Linked DNA regions of Homo sapiens: region 1 is linked to region 2. Evidence: promoter capture Hi-C in 16 types of primary human blood cells and fetal thymus (Javierre and others, 2016). All regions are on one chromosome and are shown on one strand. The core of a region is centred on a gene start or on the middle of the fragment in contact, and the rest is flanking DNA. Distances in the headings are between cores, read along the strand shown.

Region 1 (6,567 bases), core at 3,051-5,550, 150 kb after region 2:
CACTGTACTCGATTCCAAAACATTTATTAAGCACCCGCTATCTGCAAGGCGTGGCTAGGCCACAAGGAACTCTTCAGCAAGTTAAAGAGAAAAACAACAACAAGAACAAAGCAAACAAACAAACAAAAATCCTTTAGAGTTATATAAGGGAAAAAGAGAGTTGTAATTAGGGTGGGCACGTTCAAAGGGCTAGATTAAATTAAAACTAGTTAGGTTTTCTGTGGAGGAAGTGAAATGTGAGACAAGCTTTGACATATGATTACAATTTTAGTAAAGGTGGAATAAGTAAACTCTTCAGAGGTATAACTCAAACTCTATCTGATCTTCTCTTTAAGAGTTTGGAGGACCAATTATATCAATGTCTAGTTCAAAGGAAACTTACTAATGGAGGCTGGACAGTACATCACCAGTCTTCAGTATTCTATGACCATGCTCTCATAAGCATATAATAATACAAATAGTTTTCTCTTCATTCTTATAGTGCTCTCCTATATATGAATGATGACTTTGAAGGAGGAGAATTCATATTCACAGAGATGGATGCTAAGACTGTGACTGTAAGTAAACCTATTCTTGAATACTTATTTAGTATGTTTTAGCTCAGTATTGCCATTTTTCTAAGTACTTACAGATGGTTAGATTTCAAATACTTCTGAGCTCAAGATTTCAAGAGGTTAAGAGAGTTTCAGTAAATGTATAGATCATAAACTGTTAGAAGTATCCATAAAAATCTAGTACGTTGTAAAGATGAGTAAATTAAAGAATTGAGATATTAATCATTTTATCATGATCATATAGCTAGTTAGTGTTAGACTTGGAACCAAAACCTAGGTCTTCTAATTCTTTGTCAAGTAATCTGATGGAAACGTAAGAACGTCAGTTCCTAAGTCACCCAAGTCTAGAATAAGTCAAATGATTCTACAAGGTGTCTTTCAAGTAACCTGGTGTTCTACGTACTTGGACTGAGCATTGGCCTTCAAATATATAGTTACCAAAATTATCATATATGTGTGTATGTATGTGTATGTGTATATATACCTATAGGTATGTGTGTATATATATTATATATATAAAAAATATATATATAATATATATACACACATATAAATATGCCCACTGCAGCTTCCTTTCCCATGCAGACATGGCCTCATATATATATATATATATATATATATATATATTTGCATATATATATGCATAGAGAGATATATGATTGTGACTGTATGTAATAAACTCATACCTGAAAATTGATACACACACACACACACACACACAAATATGTAAACAAAGAGTAAATCAAAAGTTCAATTCAACGACCATCTTCCTAAGTAAACCCGTGCCTTTGGAAAGAAGCCTACTTAAAGACCATATAGTTAGCATCCTTTGGTCTTCAAGCCAAAGAGCATACACAATGGTAGAAAAATATATTTTCGACTGCTGCCGCTCTTTGGCCCACTTCATTCCCTTAGTCCCGAGTGCTCGCCCACTGCAGCTTCCTTTCCTGTGCGGACATGGCCTCAAGCACCACCACCACTGCCATGAAGATTGGAATAATTGGTGGAACAGGCCTGGATGATCCAGAAATTTTAGAAGGAAGAACTGAAAAATATGTGGATACTCCATTTGGCAAGCCATTTGATGTCTTAATTTTGGGGAAGATAAAAAATGTTGATTGTGTCCTCCTTGCAAGGCATGGGAGGCAGCACACCATCCTGGCTTCCAAGGTCAACTACCAGGCGACCATCTGGGCTTTGAAGGAAGAGGGCTGTACACATGTCATAGGGACCACAGCTTGTGGCTCCTTGAGGGAGGAGATTCAACCTGGCGATATTGTCATTATTGATCAGTTCATTGACAGGACCAGTATGAGACCTCAGTCCCTCTATGATGGAAGTCATTGTTGTGCTAGAGGAGTGTGCCATATTCCAATGGGGGCCAAGCCCCCAAACGAGAGACGTTCTTATAGAGACTGCTAAGAAGCTAGGACTCTGGTGACATTCAAAGGGGACAATGGTCACAACTGAGGGACCTCGTTTTATCTCTTGAGCAGAAAGCTTCATGTTCTGCACCTGGGGGGTGGATGTTATCAACATGACCACAGTTCCAGAGGTGGTTCTCACTAAAGAGGCTGGAATTTGTTATGCGAGTATTGCCATGGTGACAGATTATGACTGCTGGAAGGAGCACGAGGAAGCAGTTTTGGTGGACCGGGACTTACAGACCCCGAAAGAAAATGCTAGTAAAGCCAAAAGTTTACTGCTCACTGCCATACCTCAGATAGGATCCATGGAATGGTCAAAAACCCTCCATGGCCTGAAGAATATAGCCCAGTTTTCTGTTTTAAAATTTTTGCAATTTATCCTTTTGACAAAGGGCTAATATCTAGAATCTACAGAGAACTTTAACAAATTTACAAGAAAAACAAACAAACAACCCCATCAAAAAGTGGGAGAAGGATATGAACAGACACTTCTCAAAAGAAGACATTTATGAGGCCAACAAACATATGAAAAAAAGCTCATCATCACTGGTCATTAGAGACATGCAAATCAAAACCACAATGAGATACCATCTCACGCCAGTTAGAATGGCGATCATTAAAAAGTCAGGAAACAACAGATGCTGGAGAGGATGTGGAGAAATAGGAATGCTTTTATACTGTTGGTGGGAGTGTAAATTAGTTCAACCATTGTGGAAGACAGTGTGGCAATTCCTCAAGGATCTAGAACCAGAAATACCATTTGACCCAGCAATCCCATTACTAGGTATATACCCAAAGGATTATAAATCATTCTACTATAAAGACATATGCACATGTATGTTTATTGCGGCACTGTTCACAATAGCAAAGACTTGGTACCAACCCAAATGCTCATCAATGATAGACTGGATAAAGAAAATGTAGCAGATATATACCATGGAAGACTATGCAGCCATAAAAAAGGATGAGTTCATGTCCTTTTCAGGGACATGGATGAAGCTGGAAACCATCATTCTCAACAAACAAACACAGGAACAGAAAACCAAACACCACATGTTCTCACTCATAAGTGGGAGCTGAACAATGAGAACACATGGACACGGAGGGTAACATCACACACCAGGGCCTGTCAGGGGGATAACATTAGGAGAAATACTTAATGTAGATAATGGTTTGATGGGGTGCAGCAAACCACCATGGCACATGTACACCTATGTAACAAACCTGCACATTCTGCACATGTACACTAGAACTTAAAAGTATAATAATAATAAAAAAATTTCCAATTGAGAAAGTAAGCAGATTATAGATGACCAGGTATCTCTCACCACCATACAAAATCTAAGTAGTTGGGACATGTATGTGATAAACTTCAAAGTTTTGGCATTATAGAAGCTATTTCTAAACTTTTCTTGAATTTTATGCTTGTCCCTCATAGCTTACATGCTTTTCTCATTAGTGAAACATATCTGTCATTTATGACACACATATGTTATTCATCACACAGTACTGTGATATAAGCAGGTAATATCAAAAAGTATGTATTACTGGGTTAAAAGGTGATTCCTATGAGGATTCTCGTTAAAATTGTCTAGAAACATTGTAATAACTAAGAAAAAATATTTCATGTGACTTCATACAATAATATATGTTAAAAAGTCATGATGCCTCACTTTTTGGGTAAAAAGCTTAAATGTTAATATGGGAGTACTTTAATACTCCGTAATCTGATAAATTAAATCAAGATTGACGATCTGTATTGGAGTTTAAAGTCCAGAAGGTTTTTTGCACTTCTGGGAAAGCTTGAGTGTAGGAAGCATTTTATTTCTGATCTCTGCTAACACTGAAACTGAGGTACAAAAATACTGGCATTTCGCAGTTTCAAAGAAAGTCAGACAGGTGGTTGAAAAGATTTCTTTGCTTCTCCTCCATCTAGTGGCCGTATTTGGAAATGCTTGATGCTTAAAGCAAGGGATGCCTGTTTCATTAATTTTTGAATGTCAAGTTAACTGGAATTCTACTTTTTAAAGATGTGAAAGCAGATAATATTCTCCTTTCAGAGTGCTACAATTTTAATTAAAATCTATAACTATTTTTAAAAACCCAGAATCTAACCTCCCCTAAAAAAACTAAAACTGATTTAAACAAATTTTTAATCCAAAAGCTCCTGTTTGAGAACATTTATTTCCTCAAATACTTCATATTAATGCATACAGTGGCATTTTAGGGAATAACGTAGATAACTAAAATTCTTACGTAAGGCAGTTCTTATCTTTCCCCACAGGAAGTTTATTCTAGTACCAGCAACAACAACAACAGCAACAGAAATGGGTATTTTTCTGTTTTAGTTTCCCTTTGACTGTGGAGGGACAAATGGAGCAGAGAAATGGCATAACTTGAGGCCACATAAGGAAGTAACGTCTTCTGAGTCCTTTACTTTGGAAAAATCTGGAAGTTGTGTAATTATCTGAAAGGTGGCTGAAATTTTACTTTTATTAAAGACAATTACAGCACAAACGCTTTTCTAAATCAATCATCAGTTAGACGGAAAGCAAAAGGATTATTTTAAATTATGCTTAGTATACTTGGAAGATATGTGGATTCTTTTCAATAGCGGCATTTGTTTGTGAGACTTGGGAATTCAAGGATGTTGGTTTCTCTGTGCAGGTTCAAAGAAGATAAAATTTAATGAGTTCCATTTGTTTCATGAAAAATTAAATTCAGTATAAACGGGGCTGTGTTACAAAAGTATGTTTATAATCATTTATCCAAACTTCATAACATATTTTTGCTGTAGAAACAATGTCACACATGGAAGCAGGTTCACTAAAGCTTGTTTATTCCTCCAAATACCTGACATGTAACAGATGATGTTCGCTGTGTGATGAGATGGGTCTTAGAGATCCTTGTGAATCCACGGCTATAATCAGTTCCAACCGCCTCATACAGTTCACAGCTTCTTTTCCTAAACTTTCCCAAAGTTATTCATGTTTAAAATTACTTTCAATTCCAGAAGAAAGAAAATACTAATTTGTCCCCACATCCTTTCTTTAGTCTTATAAGATGTTACCAAGACTTGGTAATCACATAGAAACATTGGCAAATGCGTGTTTGAGTGAGTCCTGACCAGCACCAGGGAGTGGGCAGCCCAGAAAACCTGAAATTCCAACATCCCAAGGCCATTTACTCAGAAGGCTTTTCTTTCTTTCTTTCTTTCTTTCTTTCTTTCTTTCTTTCTTTCTTTCTTTCTTTCTTTCTTTCTTTCTTTTTCTTTCTTTCTTTCTTTTTTCTTTCTTTCTTTCTTTCTTCCTTTCTTTCCTTCTTTCTCTTTCTTTCTTTCTTTCTTTTCTTTCTTTCTCTCTCTCTTTTTCTTTCTTTCTCTCCCTCTCTTCTTTCTTTTCTTTCTTTCTTTTTTTTTTTTTCTGTCACCCAGACTGGAGTGCAGTAGCACGATCTCAGCTCACTGCAACTTCCGTCTCCCAGGTTCAAGCGATTCTCCTGCCTCAGCCTCCTGAGTAGCTGGGATCACAGGCACCCACCAACACATCTGGCTAATTTTTGTATTTTTAGTAGAGACGGGGTTTCACCATGTTGGCCAGGCTGGTCTCAAACTCCTGACCTCAGGTGATCCACCTGCCTTGGCCTCCTAAAGTGCTGGGATTATAGGCGTGAGCCACCACGCCCGGCCTCAGAAGTCTTTTCTATCCTACTTCACAGGTTTTACCTTTCACTTATTTTGCTGCTTCTATGTGGAAATGTACAAATTCCTTCTCCAGAAAAACAGAATCACATTGATACTGAGGACACGACTAACTCGTGAACTCTCTAGATTTACATCAGAACAGTTGCCTTGGTAAAGCTGTTTAGGAAAAGCAATTCCAGCAAAGACAAATCACTCTTCAGTTATTGTGAGTAGAAGAGTAAAAAGAAACTGACTGCTTTTTTTCTGCTCTTCCCTTTAACACTCACACACAAGTCACATATACACACACATGCAGACTCACACAGACATAAACACACACACATGCCCACATAAACACATATGCACCCACCTGTCTCTCTGGCTTTCCGACTCCTCCACCTACCTCTTACCTTCCATATGTAGTCACGTAGTCCGGGAGTACCTATGTTATGTAGCAACCAAGGACTTTAGGAAATTTTTCAAATATTCTTCCTGAAGCTAGCAGTGAAAAACCAGCCAGCTCATTTTATGCAGAAGGAAACCAAAGATTTACGGGCATATGTCAACTCAAGTCAATTCAGAAAATGGCTAGTGAGAACCAGTCCATGTTCTCACCTAGTAAAATGGCTAGTGCCACTTTTTTTTGGTTTTACTTTACTTTTCTGAACTATACAGAGGAATGAATAAAGTTTCTGTATTTCCCAAGAAAGACAAAATGGATTCTACTCACATGAGACACTTCTTTAAACACAGAAGCAAGGCCTCTAATATTCAGTTGCTTAAGCTCATTCAATTTGAAGAGGCAGCTTGTTTGATCTTCTACCCTGGCTCAGTGAGCCCAGCAGTATTTCTTTTTCTCTCACTACACTCTTCTACCTAAACGCTGTGGACAGCTCCACCTGAG
Region 2 (6,394 bases), core at 188-2,687:
GGCTAAGAATGTATTCGTGACAGAGGAGAAGGGGAGGAACAGGAAGCCTCCAGCTAGTCGTTTGGAATCTGGCAACCATTTCTGTCAGCTTTCTCATTCCTAGATTGATGCAGATTGCTTAATTCCTTGAGGTAAGGGATATACTAAATTGCCTCTTTGTTCAACTCTTAGAATAAGAATTTCCCTCTCCTCTCCCGTCCCCTCCCCTCCCCTCCTCTCCTCTCTTTTCTTTTTCTTTGTTTTTTTTGTTTTTGAGACGGAGTCTCACTCTGTCACCCAGGCTGCATGATCTCAGCTCACTGCAACCTTCACCTCCCAGGTTCAAGCAATTATCCTGCCTCAGCCTCCTGAGTAGCTGGGTCTGCAGGCACGTGCCACCACGCCCAGCTAATTTTTGTATTTTTAGTAGAGACGGGGTTTTGCCATGGTGGCCAGGCTGGTCTCGAACTCCTGACCTCAGGTGATCCACCCGCCTTGGCCTCCCAAAGTGCTGGGATTACAGGGGTGAGCCACTGCACCTGGCCCACAGCAAGAATTTTTTTCTGAATAGCATTTTACGTGTTAGGCGTCTGGCTGTTTAGGAGATGAGGAAACTGAGGCCCTCAGTTGCCAAGGTCACACAGCTGGTAAACGGACGGAGCCAGAATGCGAGTACAGCTCCTCCTGCCTCCAAAGGTTCTCTGGGCCCTGTAAAACCACGGGCTGCACAGGAAAGGCAGGCTATATATTGTTCTTCCCCTGGCCCAGCGCCCTGATCCAATGCCCGGACACACATCCACACCAAGTTGGACGAAAAGGTAAGGGAGAAACCTTCCCCAAGAGAAGAAGCGGTAAGCTTTGGTTCTAAAGGCCCTGGGTTGGGTCCGTCCTTTGCCACTTCTCAGCTCTATGCATTTAGGCAAATCACTTATCTTCTTAAACCTCCGCATCTGGGCCTACAGGGCCTCTATGGGTTTTTTTTCTATTTATTTATTTATTTATTCTTTTTTTTTTTAACTTTACGTTCCGGGATACACGTGCAGAATGCGCAGATTTGTTGCGTAGGTACACATGGCATCTACGGTTTGATTCAGTCTGAAATGGCGCTCCAGGCTTCATTTAGAAGGTGAAGCACTCTGCAAACTGCGAGGCCATACAGAGATTCCAGAATATGATTAAGGCCCTAACCTTGCTAAGCTGGATTTTCTTTATTTCCCAAAAAGAAGACTAATACTATCCACTTGTACAACCAGAAGGGAGCTCACGTGTAAAGCGCCTCGTCCCCGGCCGGCCTCAAGCGGCGCTAGCTCTCTGGCTGGCGCTGGAGTGTGCCGCCCCTGGCAGCCCCGCCGCTGCAGCGGGGAGCCTGGGAGAGCGGCTCTCGGAGTCTCAGGCAGCAGGAGGAGCGTGTGAGCTGTGGGCGTCCCTTTAAGAGCGGCTGGCCAGGCACGGCCTCCGCCTCTCAGTACGCGGAGCGCCGGCGGTCACCTGGGGCTCGCGGAGCGGCCAGATCGCGGCGGAGTCGGCGCGCTTCCCCGAGGGAAGGTGGGAGAGGGGACCCGGACGCGAGGTGCCCCGAAGCCCTCTCGAGCGTAACCGTCCCGCGCCTCTCTGAGGCGGAGGATGCGGGAGCGCATCTGGGCGCCGCCGCTGCTGCTGCTGCTGCCGCTGCTACTGCCGCCGCCACTGTGGGGCGGCCCCCCGGACAGCCCACGCCGGGAGCTGGAGCTGGAGCCCGGGCCTCTGCAGCCCTTCGACCTGCTCTACGCCAGCGGCGCGGCCGCCTACTACAGCGGAGACTACGAGCGAGCGGTGCGCGACTTGGAAGCGGCGCTGCGCAGCCACCGGCGCCTGCGGGAAATCCGCACGCGCTGTGCCCGCCACTGCGCGGCGCGCCACCCGCTCCCGCCCCCGCCCCCCGGCGAGGGCCCCGGCGCTGAGCTGCCCCTTTTCCGCTCCTTGTTGGGGCGGGCGCGCTGTTATCGCAGCTGTGAGACCCAGCGCCTCGGGGGCCCCGCATCCCGCCACCGCGTCAGCGAGGATGTGCGCAGCGACTTCCAGCGCAGAGTGCCCTACAACTACCTGCAGCGGGCCTACATCAAGGTACCCACAGAGCGCTCCTCCACTGCAAAGCCCCTGCGGCTCTCACACGCTCTCTTGAGCCCTCCCTGCTGCCCCCGTCATCTCTGTTCAGTCTTTCGAATTGGGTCTCCTTAAATATGTGTCTCAGTTTGTGAATCCAGATATCTGGTGGCCCTATCTCTGTATGCAACAATTGATTAACTTGGACAAGTCTTTTTCTCTCTTTCTCAGAGCCAGCTTCTCTCTCAAAAAGAGGACTGTCCTGATAAGGTGATGTTTAAAGTACCCATTCAGCACTAATTCATGAGGCATTGACAAAGCTGAATCTAGTACAATTTATCTTCTCCCTTCTCACTTCCCATTTCTCTTCTCCCTTCTCACTTCCCATTTCTCTTCTCCCTTCTCACTTCCCATTTCTTTTGTCTCCTCTCTCTTATCCTTCCTATACTGTAGTCTGCACCTTTTCTCTGAAGTTTAAAAGAATCTTCAAAATAGTGAAGTTGAAAGACCTGTTCCAAAACAAATTTCTCTCTCTTCTCCCCTTCACCTACAAAAAAGTAAAGATCAAAGGTTAAAGAGAAGGTATGCTTGGAGGAGGCGAAGCTGTTTGAGGCAGTCTCAGTCAAAGTATCCACCCTAAGTGTTGACTTTTTCTCCTTTGATAGAGGGCTTACGTTTTCTGGTGGTATGCATTGGACTGGGTTACTAGGCATCAGTCCTCTCTTTCTAGTTTTATTTTTGTATGCCTAACTTGCCTAAAGTTAGCGTCAGGAGGTATAGTATGCATATTGACATATTGTTCACATCCATAACTTTGAAGATCTCTCTGGATGCTTCAGCAGAGGGAATTTGAATGAGTTCTTCAACCTCCACTGCCACTCACCCAATTTTCCTTCAAATTGACACTCTTAACCCTTCTTTCTCGTTTTCTGTGTTAATATATCAATGTATCTTCTACAGCTACCGGAAAAGTGGAAGCTTTGGGGTTGGTTGTTCATGCTAGCCAATGGACCAGGCTGCTCTGCTCTGCTCTGCTCTGCTGTGCTCTGCTTTGCTTTCTTTTCTCCTCTCCTCTCCCCTCCTCTCCTCTCCTCTCCTCTCCCCTCCCCTCCCCTCCCCTCCCCTCCCCTCCCCTCTCCTCTCCTCTCTTCCTTTTCTTTTCTTTTTTTGACGGAGTTTTGCTCTTGTCACCCAGGCTGGAGTGCAGTGGTGCAATCTGGGCTCACTGCAACCTCCGCCTCCCGGGCTCAAACGATTCTCCTGCCTCAGCCTCCTGAGTAGCTGGGATTACAGGTGTGCACCACCATGCCGGGCTAATTTTTGTGTGTGTTTGTGTATTTTTAGTAGCGAAGGGGTTTCACCATGTTGGCCAGGCTGGTCTCGAACTCCTGACCTCAGGTGACCCGTCCGTCTCCGCCTCCAAAAGTGCTGGGATTATAGGCGTGAGCACGGCTGGACCAGGCTGTGTTTCTAAGGAGATGAAAGTACATACCATGTTCAAATATCCAAATGCCTTTTGCAGCTCATCCCACAAGATCTCTGCCCTCATCTGTGGTAGGGTTCTCTCAGATTGGCAACTGTTGGTGGAGTGCACGAAATTTCAACTAAGTATAAATCTTAACTTCCTTGTGTTGTGGCTAAGGTGTTGGAGTTCACTGGACTAGTATCTTGGGCAAGAAATGAGGAGAAAGTCTGAATCCTTTCCAGGACTTGTCTTCTGCTTGCTTGTGCCTCCTGATTGCTAAGGCATGTATGAAGTATAACTCTAATTTCTTCTAAGTGATTTACACAATTTCTGGTGGTCTTACAGAAATCAGTCAACACCAGGCAGAGAGGGGACCTTGAGTGTCTGACGGTGAAGTTATCATAAGCTAGTTCCCAGAGCAGAACATGGGTGGTCCCTGTAGCTTGGTCCTCCCAGGAGTCTCGGATGTAAGGTTAGCAGTCCTGCTGTTAATTCTGTCACAAATTTTGGACATATTTTCCTTTCTCATATCTGGAGAAAGAATACATAGTCAAGGTCAGTCCTATAAAAACAAATAACCATGAGGTAACTCTCAATATGTGGGTTTCCCTGGTTCTGGAATTCTGCTTGCTTCACTGTTAATGTCAGCATTTGTCAGTCATTTCCCCTCCGGTTCCCTGGTTGGAGGTCAAAGAAGGTGAAGCCATAGGTTTAACATACCTCAAATTTTTGTGGTGAATTGATTACAGGAACAAGTCACACTCTGTAAGTGAATTACTGGGTGTTGTCTGATGAATTAATGAAGTTTAAGAAGTTCTTTCAAAGATCCGTGGCTTCGTGTGTTCATTTCAGTTCTACCAGCAATATTTCTGAGAGCAGAACAAGTCTTGCGTCTTCTCCCTACTTCTCTTCTCTGGCAGTTTCTTGGATCTACATAATTGATAATCTCTTAAGAAGAAAATATTTTATCCTTTTGGAAATTCGTTTTTGAAAGTTGGAGTTTGTGAACCTCTAAAACTGCATCATGGTTTTTCTCTCCCCTTCACCCCCCTCCCCCAGCCCCCAAGAAAGCCCCAGTTTTAGCCTTTGCTTGGCTTCCTTGGAATTTCACTTATGAATACGCACACACACCATCTTTTGAGACTGAAAAAAAAAAAAAAAACCTCTCAAATAATAAAAGAACATCCTGGAGCTCTGACAGGTCTGGATTCTAGGGCATTGATTCCCTGATGTTAGGATGAGGAACTCCCTGCCATGTGACTGGATATGGTCATGGTGCCCTGTATTGTTTAATTGCTTTTGACATCAGTGATCCAGTTTGCACTTAAAAGGATAATCCTGGACTAGATCAAATTCAGTGAGGGAGGACTGGAATGCTTCATAAAGCTAAGAAAGTACAATTATTCTCAGCTAAGAGATTTTCCAACTATAGAAGCTCTCAGGAGATGTTACTGCTCCCCCAAATCCTGCTGAGTGGGCCTCCGATGAAAGCAGATTATTTGTGCTGGTGTGTTGGAGGGGAAGAAGGATGAAAAATCATGAAATCTGAGACCCAATGAGTTCAATTTCTTGGTTCACAGATGAGGAAAGGGATGTTTCTAAATGTTTAATAGAAAGGTAAAGAGGTTTGCTCAGTGTCACATATTTAGTGGCATACCAAATGATCTGTTGAAATGAGCACAGGGCTGGGAGTCAGGAGTCTGGATTCTTCCAATAACTGATTCCGATAGCTTTCCTGTGCCCACTGGCCTGTAGGTTCACATCAGGTCCCAGAGAATGCTGCATACCCCAGGGCTATCCTTATGCCAGATTTGGACAGCTCCAGGGATGAGTATATCCTTGTCTTGCAGGGTAACAGATACTCACTACATCTTTCATGAGCCTTGCTCTGTTGAATTTTTTCAAGGCCTGGCATGTTGGGAATTTGCCTAGACAGCTATGAGGCAGTAGTTTCACGTGGCTCCTAGCCATACTTTTTGTTTAAAGGCAGTGTGAGACTCTTCAAACTTTTGATTTTTATCATTTAAGATTGTTAGAGATAACCCATGATTCATAGCCTAAGACGTAATATATAGCTTTTATCATTGCATTCTCTGCTCAGAAACCTTCAGTGGACTTCCTCTTGCTACCATATAAAGCTCAAATAGGTTACCATAGCATCCACAGCCTGGCTCCCTCTCAACCTTCCCAGTCCTATCTTCCCCAACTCTGCCGCCTTCCAGCCAAAGGTAACAATGAGTGCTTTGTCTTATGCCTGACACTTCTGCATCTCTTGGCCTTGTTTAGTCTTTCTTGGGAGGTGTAGAGGCTTTAGAATGGATAGATATGGGATTAATTTTTAGTTTTCCCAGTCTCTATCTGTGTGACTGTCAGCAAATTCCATAAGATTTTTCAGCTTTAGTTCTCCCATCTGCAAAATGGGGAAATAATGGGGCCTACGTTCCTATTTTAAGTTAAGTTTAAGAGATGAGTGATGTAAAGCACCCAGCATAGGGCCTGATTCTCAGTAACCATTGGAGATACATTTATTCTTTTTATTAGTTAAAATAGTAGACCTTTCCTCTTCCTCTTCTACATGTTCAAATCATAACTATCCTAACATATAAATGCACCTATTTCTGTGAGTTCTTCCTTCACTCCATCTACAACTCCCAAAAGTATACCATTTCTCCATTTTCTGAATTCCCACAGTAACAATTTTGTTCCTCTTCTGTCATTTTTCATTTTTAACCTTGTTTTGGAAAAAGTGATAATTTCGTTATTACTTAGGTGAGCTTCCTGAAATCAAGAACTGTCTTAGTGATTCTTGTATCTCCTAAAGCAGAGGTTCCCAGATTTGGATGATTACTAAATGGATAATTATTATTA

Evidence for each region. Contacts are between HindIII fragments. The CHiCAGO score rates a contact against its expected background, and 5 or more counts as called.
Region 1: a contact is called between a fragment that was not itself captured here and the fragment with the promoter of P3H2 in region 2, in 3 of 17 cell types (endothelial precursors, megakaryocytes and erythroblasts). The highest score is 13.9, in endothelial precursors.

What each region holds. Positions count from the first base shown.
Region 1 is chr3:189,964,806-189,971,372 of GRCh38, reverse strand. It overlaps P3H2 (prolyl 3-hydroxylase 2), which reads left to right. Exons shown (of 15, transcript NM_018192.4): 13 at 482-557. It also overlaps the pseudogene MTAPP2. Among named protein-coding and RNA genes, the nearest start is that of MIR944, 140 kb to the right of the region's middle. The HindIII fragment of the contact is 1,030 bases long and covers 3,786-4,815 here.
Region 2 is chr3:190,115,940-190,122,333 of GRCh38, reverse strand. It overlaps P3H2 (prolyl 3-hydroxylase 2), which reads left to right and starts at 1,437. Exons shown (of 15, transcript NM_018192.4): 1 at 1,437-2,082. The coding sequence starts at 1,603. P3H2-AS1 (P3H2 antisense RNA 1) reads right to left here and starts at 1,370. Exons shown (of 4, transcript NR_126419.1): 1 at 1,245-1,370. RefSeq lists an enhancer at 1,051-1,230 and silencers at 1,200-1,494, 1,441-1,670, 1,881-1,960. The HindIII fragment of the contact is 2,204 bases long and covers 838-3,041 here.